3 separate regions of the Homo sapiens genome follow, and regions 2 and 3 are each linked to region 1. Evidence: promoter capture Hi-C in 16 types of primary human blood cells and fetal thymus (Javierre and others, 2016). All regions are on one chromosome and are shown on one strand. The core of a region is centred on a gene start or on the middle of the fragment in contact, and the rest is flanking DNA. Distances in the headings are between cores, read along the strand shown. Region 1 holds the start of PRSS12 (serine protease 12). Region 2 has its middle 99 kb from the start of MIR1973. Region 3 has its middle 77 kb from the start of MIR1973.

Evidence for each region. Contacts are between HindIII fragments. The CHiCAGO score rates a contact against its expected background, and 5 or more counts as called.
Region 2: a fragment that was not itself captured here is called in contact with the fragment with the promoter of PRSS12 in region 1 in 1 of 17 cell types (M1 macrophages); the score reaches 5.8 in M1 macrophages.
Region 3: a fragment that was not itself captured here is called in contact with the fragment with the promoter of PRSS12 in region 1 in 1 of 17 cell types (M2 macrophages); the score reaches 5.3 in M2 macrophages.

What each region holds. Positions count from the first base shown.
Region 1 is chr4:118,351,370-118,354,281 of GRCh38, forward strand. PRSS12 (serine protease 12) reads right to left here and starts at 1,634. Exons shown (of 13, transcript NM_003619.4): 1 at 850-1,634. The coding sequence starts at 1,351. RefSeq lists an enhancer at 1,379-2,224 and silencers at 1,491-1,570, 1,601-1,860. The HindIII fragment of the contact is 7,140 bases long and covers 1-2,440 here.
Region 2 is chr4:116,397,432-116,400,221 of GRCh38, forward strand. No RefSeq gene overlaps it. Among named protein-coding and RNA genes, the nearest start is that of MIR1973, 99 kb to the left of the region's middle. The HindIII fragment of the contact is 1,137 bases long and covers 774-1,910 here.
Region 3 is chr4:116,375,713-116,378,589 of GRCh38, forward strand. No RefSeq gene overlaps it. Among named protein-coding and RNA genes, the nearest start is that of MIR1973, 77 kb to the left of the region's middle. The HindIII fragment of the contact is 1,037 bases long and covers 895-1,931 here.

The DNA of each region.
Region 1 (2,912 bases), core at 384-2,883:
CAAAATCCCAACAATTCAAAATGAAGCAATGTTCAAAGCTGGATTATTCATTTACATTAAATTTATTAGTGTGATGCTTTTATTACCACAAACCTAAAACATTTTGCCACCTTTATCTCCTGATGTTACCAACTAATCCTGATAAAACATATAAAGCTAAGTAATGGCTCTGGAAAACTGTGTATAACTATATTAAGTTGCTACTTCACCAAGATAGTAGTATTCCCATCTCTTTTCCCTTTCTTTTTTTCCAGTCACTGATGATACTTACCATACTGAGCTGGAGTATGTGAATATGGCTGATTTTGGCCACATAATTTTGCCATACTTTTTAAAACAGAGGTCAACAGCTAAATTAAGGCAAAATTTTACCACATTTTTAAAAATCGGAGTCTAAAGAATGGAGGGAAGGTTATTGATTGCCACGTTAATGTAACATTTCCCTTTCCAGAACAAGTAATTATGCCTCTTTAATGTAAATATGGTAACCCACTCAACGTAAGCTAATCTAGAGAACAGACGCCCAAAGCACACTGTCACCCAATACACGAGCGCACACACACACACAGTGGCCAGAGGACAGAGCAAATTCAGAAACCCAGAGCTCAGCACCTTGCATAGAACTGTCACCCCTGACAACCTTCACACAAGCACACCTGGCTGGCTTAGATTTGCAGCACCAGTATACCTTACTGGTAACCCAGCTGCAGCCCACCATCACAGCCCGCAAACGCAAGCCCACAACCCCACACACCCCGTCACTTTTTCCAAGAGACCTGTACGCCGGCCCCAAGCCTCACTGGCTCCGAGCCCGTCCGGAGTTTCCGCGGCCGCCCCGAGGCCACTAACCGTGTCTGCAGTCGCAGTAGCCCCAGTCCACCTTGCCACGGGCGTCTCCGTAGAAACACCAGGGTCTGCCCGCGCCGTCGGGGCTCCGACAAAAGTTGTGGCGCTGTCCTCGCAGCTGAGCCCAGCTCGCTGGGGGCGACCGCTCCAGGAAGGGTGGCACCTCCGCCCACCGCAGACACGGGGCGCCGAAGTCCGTCACGCTGACCCATGGCTCGCCGGCGGGGCAGCCCCAGGGGTGCGGCCGGGGCGTGTGCCCGGCCTGGAGGGCGTGCGGGCGCTGGGCAGGGAGCGCCCGCGGGGGGCGCGGGAAGCGCGGGAGAGGCGGCGGCGGACGCGTCCTCGGGGGCCGCTGCTGGGTGGGAAGGTAATAGGGGTAGTGCGGACCCGCAGGGGGCGAATGGCGGTGGCTGTGGTGGAGGGAATCATTGAGGACAGAATCAAAGCCGACCACTTCGGGGAGCGCCCCTAACATCAGGGCTAGCACGAAGCGGGCGAGCGTCATGGTGCCAGCGCTGCGGGGTCTGGTCCATGCTCCCCAGCTTCTCGGGCTTGGAGCGGAGAAGAGGAGGGGGCGGGGGCGGGGCTGCCGCGTCCCTCGAATCCCCCAGCCCCCTCCCGCCCCCGCACGCGGACCGCCCTCGCCTCCCCAACCTTGCCTCCCGCCGCTGGTGCCCTGCCGCGCCTCGGCTCCTGTCCCCTGGCGGCGGCCGCGGGTGGGGAAATCTGGAGCTCAGCCGAGCCCCGGCCGGCGGAGAGGACCGGAAAAGAGAAGGCGCGGACGCAGCGGGGAGCGGTTGGGCCTGAGCCCCAGGTAGCGGCGCAGGCACGAGCCCGGGAACTCTGCCCCCTGGGGGCGGGCGCCGGCCGCGCAAGCTGCTCCGGACCTACGCTCGGCCCCTGCCAGGCCCACCGCAGTCCGCCCGCACGGCACTGCCAGCTGCTGGGACCGAGCCCGAGGGTGCCCGCGCGGAGCACGGTCTTGGCTGCCCCTTGCCAGCATGCAGCACCAGCACAGCCCGGCGTTGGCGGCTCCCAAATCTGGCACCGGCCCCTGCCGTCATCTCTCCTCCAACCTCGTCGCCCCGTATCTTGCTTCCTCTGTTTTGAAATCTTTACCAAAGTATGGATGGATTTAGATGCAGCTCTTCCCTGACAACTCCCAGGATAAAAGTTATCAAAACCCACGAGGAATGTTAAAGCCATTTCACTGAACTATACGCTCTTCAAGGACAAGACCACGTTTTATTCAGCTTGATATCACCGTGCTTAACACCGTGCCCCAATAAACATTGGCTGAAATTAAAATCCTGAACCGACTCAGGGAAAGGAGCTTGAGCCTTTCTGCTTCCTGCCTCCCACTTTCCAGCCGGTGCCCTGGACAACACCAGTTGTTTGGTTATTATTGGGATTCAGTGAGGCTCTCTTAATACCAAATTTCCTCTCTAACCAGAGAAGACTTCATCCGTCCCGGTTTCCATCCTATCCAAAAAGTCCACCCCCCTAGCACCTGCCTCGTTTTTTGCAGGGCAAGGGACTTCTGTTAAGCCTATTCATTTGCCTCTCCAGAGACTCTGCCTGCTGACAATTTTGAAGCTTCACTGTTGGCTCGACCTCAGCTTAGTAGGGCCCTTTCAACACTCCTCGCCCCCCTCCCGCAGGCTCCAAAAAACTGTTGGCTTAGAATCTTAAAAAAAAAAAGTTACTGGAGCTGTATGTTTTAGTATTTTGCCTTTCAGTTGTTTCTGACTATGCTACCAAAGTTTGACAAGGAGAAGGAAGCCCGTAAAGAAGGCAACATTTTATTTTCTGGCATGGTCACGTTTCGTTGTGAAAAAGCAATGCTGTCTCATAATATAATGTACCCTGAAGAAAACTTGAACAAAATTCAAATGTTTATTGTTAAAACCTAGGTTTCAATTAGGAACTGAATTAATTCACTACTAGCTTTAAATAAGCCATCTTTAGCCGGGCGAGGTGGCTCACACCTGTAATCCCAGCAGTTTGGGACGCCCAGGCAGGCGGATCACATGAGGCCAGGAGTTCGAGAACAGCGTCGCCAACAT
Region 2 (2,790 bases), core at 92-2,591, 2.0 Mb before region 1:
TTTGGGTGGGAGAGGGAAATAAGGCAGGGTTTGAGGGATGTTGATTCTGAGACAGCATCTAAAGCCTCTTAGCATGTCAAAGCCCCAGTCTTTGGAGTATCACTTTCTGAGCCCCAACAGAGAAAAATCACCATGAGGAACAACACTAAATGGCATATCTAAAAGAGACAAAAGTTTAAGGTATAGATGATTATTTGGCAAACAAGTAGTGATAGATTATTAACATCATTTAATAAAAGTAGACTTAATTCATATAAAGTCCTTCAGTATCTTGCACAATATGATGGGAAGAAGAAAGTATTTTTTCCCCATGTCTAAAATTTATTTAATACTTTTTCCTTATAATTATATGTCCTTCTGGAAGAAAATGCTTAGAAGCAGTTACTATAAAACAGTTATTATTGACTCCTGCTATTAATATGTCATGGAGGCAAATGTAAAGAAGAAAGAATATTTGTTAGGTTATTTTTTAATTTTATTTTCCTAAGTCAGCATTTTTGGAAGTATCTTTAGGATTATTTAATTAGAAATATTATTTTTCTTAGGACCTAATATAAAGACACTGGATTTATTCTCGTGTTATTAAATGCGTATACCAAGAAACATTTTAATATGCAAATTAGAAACAATGCTATATGTCTAGCATCGAATTACACATTTTGTAATTTTTATATAATTTAATCTTTAAAAATGCAATTACCACAAAAGTAGACAGTGGCCATTTTTATTCCAATTTTCTAGATGAGGAAATTAGTGTTGAGGGGCAAATGAAAAGCTTTATAGCTGTTTGAACTCAGATCAGAACCGTTTTTTTTTAAACTTCAAATCTTTGCTCTTTCTATTGTATAATACTGCTTCCAGTAGACATATTAATATATGTCTGTTGGTGAATGCATTTGGGCAGGAAGAACTACTACATTTAAGATAATATTTTATTCTTAAATGTTTCTCAGGAATTTTAAAGATATGCATAATTTTCAGACAGCATTTATGTTATTCATATTTGAGCAGTTATTATCAGCTTTCTTAGTTACAATTTACTGGGCACTACCATCATAATATTTTGTCAGAGAAAAATTGTTCTGTTAACTAAAAAGTAATTTTACTGTCAATAAGCAATAGGTGACACAGCCAATATTTATTTTATTCTACTTTAAATTTAGAAGTGAAAACTTATTTTCCCAAAGGAATGTCTTCTTGAAAAGTGTGTTTTCATTTTAAAAATTACATTTGTACCTAAGATATTAATGTGGAAATCATGATATTAAATAACAGTTCTAAAATTGTAATGGGGATTATGATTTCATAAGAAGAAAATTATTTATGGAGGTAACGTTATTGTATAATTTCCTATGGGATCTCTACATCAGGGCTGGTTTTATTAGATCCTAAAACAAGTCACCTACATTCACTTTAGGATATAAAGTAATGTTAAATTAATATTGCAAAGCAGTTCACAGTGTGAGCAAAGACATCTGTTTATGTTACCATAAATAGTTATGAACTGAGGAGCTCAAATGGCTTTGCCAGCAAAGCATTGCCTCCTAATTTATTTTTATAGAAAATGGAAGCCTCATTTTTCATGATTGGGTAGTTTGCATTCAAATGTACAAGTAACTTCAAATGCAATCACTTTTACACAGCATGTTTTATTGCAGAGCCATAGGATGAAATTGCTAATGGTCTCTTGTGGGGTAGTCATGTTCTCCGATGAAAATTTTATTTTATTTCATAATATTTTTAAACTTAATTTCAAAATTGAGATTCACTTCTTTAGAAAACAATGTAATAAATGTAAAATTAAGAAGGCTTTAATATAATGTTGATGTGTAGAGTCGAAAATGAAAATATGAATGTTCTGTCTAAGAATCTTGGAATTCTGCAAGTTCATTCTTGAGTGCTGAAACTGAAGCTTTTTCTATAGGTTTTTTTGTTTTGTTTGTTTGTTTGTTTTTGTTTTTTTAGACACAGTCTCGCTTTATCACCCAGGCTGGAGCGCAGTGGAACGACACGGTTCACTGCAACCTCCGCCTCCCAGGTTCAAGCAATTCTCTTTCCTCAGTCTCCCATGTAGCTGGGATTACAGACACCCACCACCAAGCCCAGCTAATTTTTGTACTTTTAGTAGAGACAGGGTTTCCCCATGTTGGCCAGGCTGGTCTTGAACTCCTGACCTCAGGTGATCCACCCGCCTCGGCCTCCCAAAATGTTGGGATTACAGGCGTGAGCCGCTGCGCTTGGCTGGATTTTTTTTTTTTTAACAAAGAAAGTGGGAAATCTAAACTATTAAAAATATCTGAATTATTAAAATGTTACAGAGAGAAAATTTTCTGTGAATAAAACATTTTAAATGATTGTTTTGCTGATTGAATATAATAACAGAAAACAGCACAAGTATTATATTTCCAGACATGCAACCTTAAATTTTGAAAAAGTTAATTCTTAATTTTTAGAAAGCAGAGATTGTAAATTTACATGGATATTTCTATTTATCCTAATGGACATAAAATATAAATAAAATATTTTTAACTCTAAATGTATGGCATTTATGCAAAATAATACTTGTTCACATGAAGAATTATATCTAAATATTTATAAACATTTTAAGAAGAAATGACTCAGTAATTTCACGTAAAATTACTTGTATGTGTAATTGTAAAAAGTATAAGCATTGTTCCCTCATCATTTGACTATTATAAATGTTAAAACAAATAAGCAGGAGACCCTTAACCTGAGATTATCTATGTATTTTGAGTTCCTACATAACAAACTGCAATCTGACAGTATGCA
Region 3 (2,877 bases), core at 163-2,662, 2.0 Mb before region 1:
AAAGCAAGGTTTGAAGAGACCACTAAGGGTATGGCCAAATCACCAAATAAAGAGAATAGTCAGCTATCTCAACCAGAAGCCTGGAGCTACTGTTCAATACAGTGGAAGAGTGGAAAGGAAGGGCTGACAGCCTGTGAACCAGGAAGTGAGCCCTCACCAGATGCTGAATCTGTCAATACATTGATCATGAACTTTCTTGTCTCCAGAACTGTGAGAAATAAATTTCTGATATTTATAAGCTACTTAATTTATGATATTTTGTTATAGCAGCTTGAACAGACTAAACCAATAGACATTCTGCTCTCATTCCTGATTTTAAATAGTACAATTCTTATATTTTACCATAATGTGTGATATTCATTATGGCTTTTTAATGATTATTTTATCAGATTGAGTTTTAAAATTTTAATCCGAATAGATTTTGAATCATGTTGCATTCATTCTGCATCTATTGAGATAATCATATTTTTGTAGTGCTAGATAATTTAGGAGACTTTATATTTAGAACAGTTTCAGTTTTATAACAAAATTGAACAGAAATACGAGAGTTCCCATATTTTTACTATTCTCACACATGTGCAGCCTCCCACACTATGAGCATTCCCCACTAGAGTGTTACATTTATTATAACTGATGAACCTACATTGGCATGTCTCAACACCATTCAAAGTTCATAGCTTACACTAGAGTTCTGCCTTAGTATTATACAAGACAATAATATGTTTTTAACTTGATATTTCAGTACACTGGGTTATATTAATATATGTCTAAATTTATAAAGAGAAAACTGAAAAAAAGTTAAGTTATACAAGGCAGGGAAGTTAGAATTCAAATCCTGTCATTCTAGTTTTAAAGTCTATATATACCTTTATCCATTATAATACAGTGTCTATAAGCTTATGCTGTTTACAAGGAAAGCACACAAAGTAGAAAGTCAAAAAATGGAAAACAAGATATATGAATTATTATGAGATTTTCCTACTATATGTCTAGGTATGGATTTTTTTTTACTCTGTCCATTCAGGGTTTTGTTTCTTTTATTTCCCTGCATCCCCACATGAAATATATATTCCAAGCGATTACTAATGTATTTTTCATAGACTCTAGATTGTTTCAATGAATTTTTTATGTCAAAATGTACTTGCAGAATATTTAGCATATTGTAAATGACTGATAATTGTAGTACATGAATAAACATCTTTAAGCTATGCACTTCAAATAATCTAATTTCAGACATATGGGGTGTGAATGATTGTCCTCTGTCCACTTCATCACATATGCCTTTGTAGCATTTCTTGAGCATTTGTGCATATCATATCCTAATATAATAAGACATGTAATTTCTTTTCAGAGTGGAGGTGGCTGTGAAAATAATAACAACATATAATTCCAAGAAACTTCATCACTTAAGTATTTTTTACTCATTTTGTTTGTGAGAAAGCTGAGGCTTAGTGAAATTAAGTTTCCCATGGTAACACAATGTTGGAACAAAATTGGAAATGAACTCTGTCCTATCTGAGGCAGTCTGAGTTTTTCTAACATTACTGTGTCATGTGTAGAAGACTCGAAAGCTCCCCATCTGTTTCATCTTCCTACTAGGTGTCTCTGCACTAGTCATGTCTTCATAATATTGCTAACCAAGTTTAATTAAAACACGCTTTTATTAAAAAACAAAATAAAACCTTTACATCTAGTATTTTTTTAGTATTTCTATAATCTGATCATGTTCTAACTATCCAAAATTAGTTTCTATTAGTTTTATCTGAACTTCTTTTTTTGCTCTTTCTTGACTTCTTATCTCTATATCTGCTCTGTAAGATTCTTTTGTTTCATGTTTGTTAACACTCCATGGACCTATCTTATTTTTCTGTAAAATAATTGAAATATTTTCCAAGGTTCAAAAGATAGATAAAATCCTACAACCTCTACAAAGCTTTTTATGAGTATTATTTTTCTGAATCTTCATTGGCCTTTAAATAGAGTACACATTTCCCCTGGATATTTTTTCAATAATACTTTAAAATTAGCATAAGCATTTTTATATTGCTTGATTAATACCTACATTTTAAAAACCATGCCACATCACTAAAGACCACCACACTAATGAAATATTTTTTAATGTTACACATAGCATTATTTCAATTATTGATGTGACATATAATTATTAACAACACCATTAAAACATGACATCACTAAATAGAAATGAAGACTAGTGTAATGGAAAGAAAATTTGCTATGGTCTTAAACAGGCTTGAATTCACACCTGATTTGATCATTTATAAGATATGTGATATGGGGTGATTATTAAGGTTATCTGAGATCTTTTTTCTTTTGAAAAATAATTTTGATAAACTTATCTTCTCTGCATAATTCATAAACTTGATTTAAGTCTTTTCATATGTTACGGAATTCCATTTAGACTAATGTACCTAGAACAGATTTCTTCTCCAACTGTTCTCCATTCTCTCACTCTACTTTTCCACACAAAATTATCACTCCCAGAAAGTGAAACATTTCTTTATTTTGTCTTTTATACTAACCTCTATGACCACATCGATCTTGACTGTTTTAATCACTGTTATAACACAGAAGCAGGAAAAGTTCTCCAAATCTAGTAATACATTAACATGTAATTAAAATATATTAATTTTAATTAAAAATGTGTTAATATTTAATATAAACATTAAATATGAATATACATGTTTTTCATAATATACACAAAATTGTGAGTCAGAAGATAGGAGGTTAGCTTCAAGTCACTAACTTAATGGGTGGCTGCAGAAGTAATAAGCCCTCTTTATCTGAGAAATCAGGGACTTGAAACAAATGTGTCACTGTACAATTTCATTTGGAATTATATAATCTTATTTTAAAAAC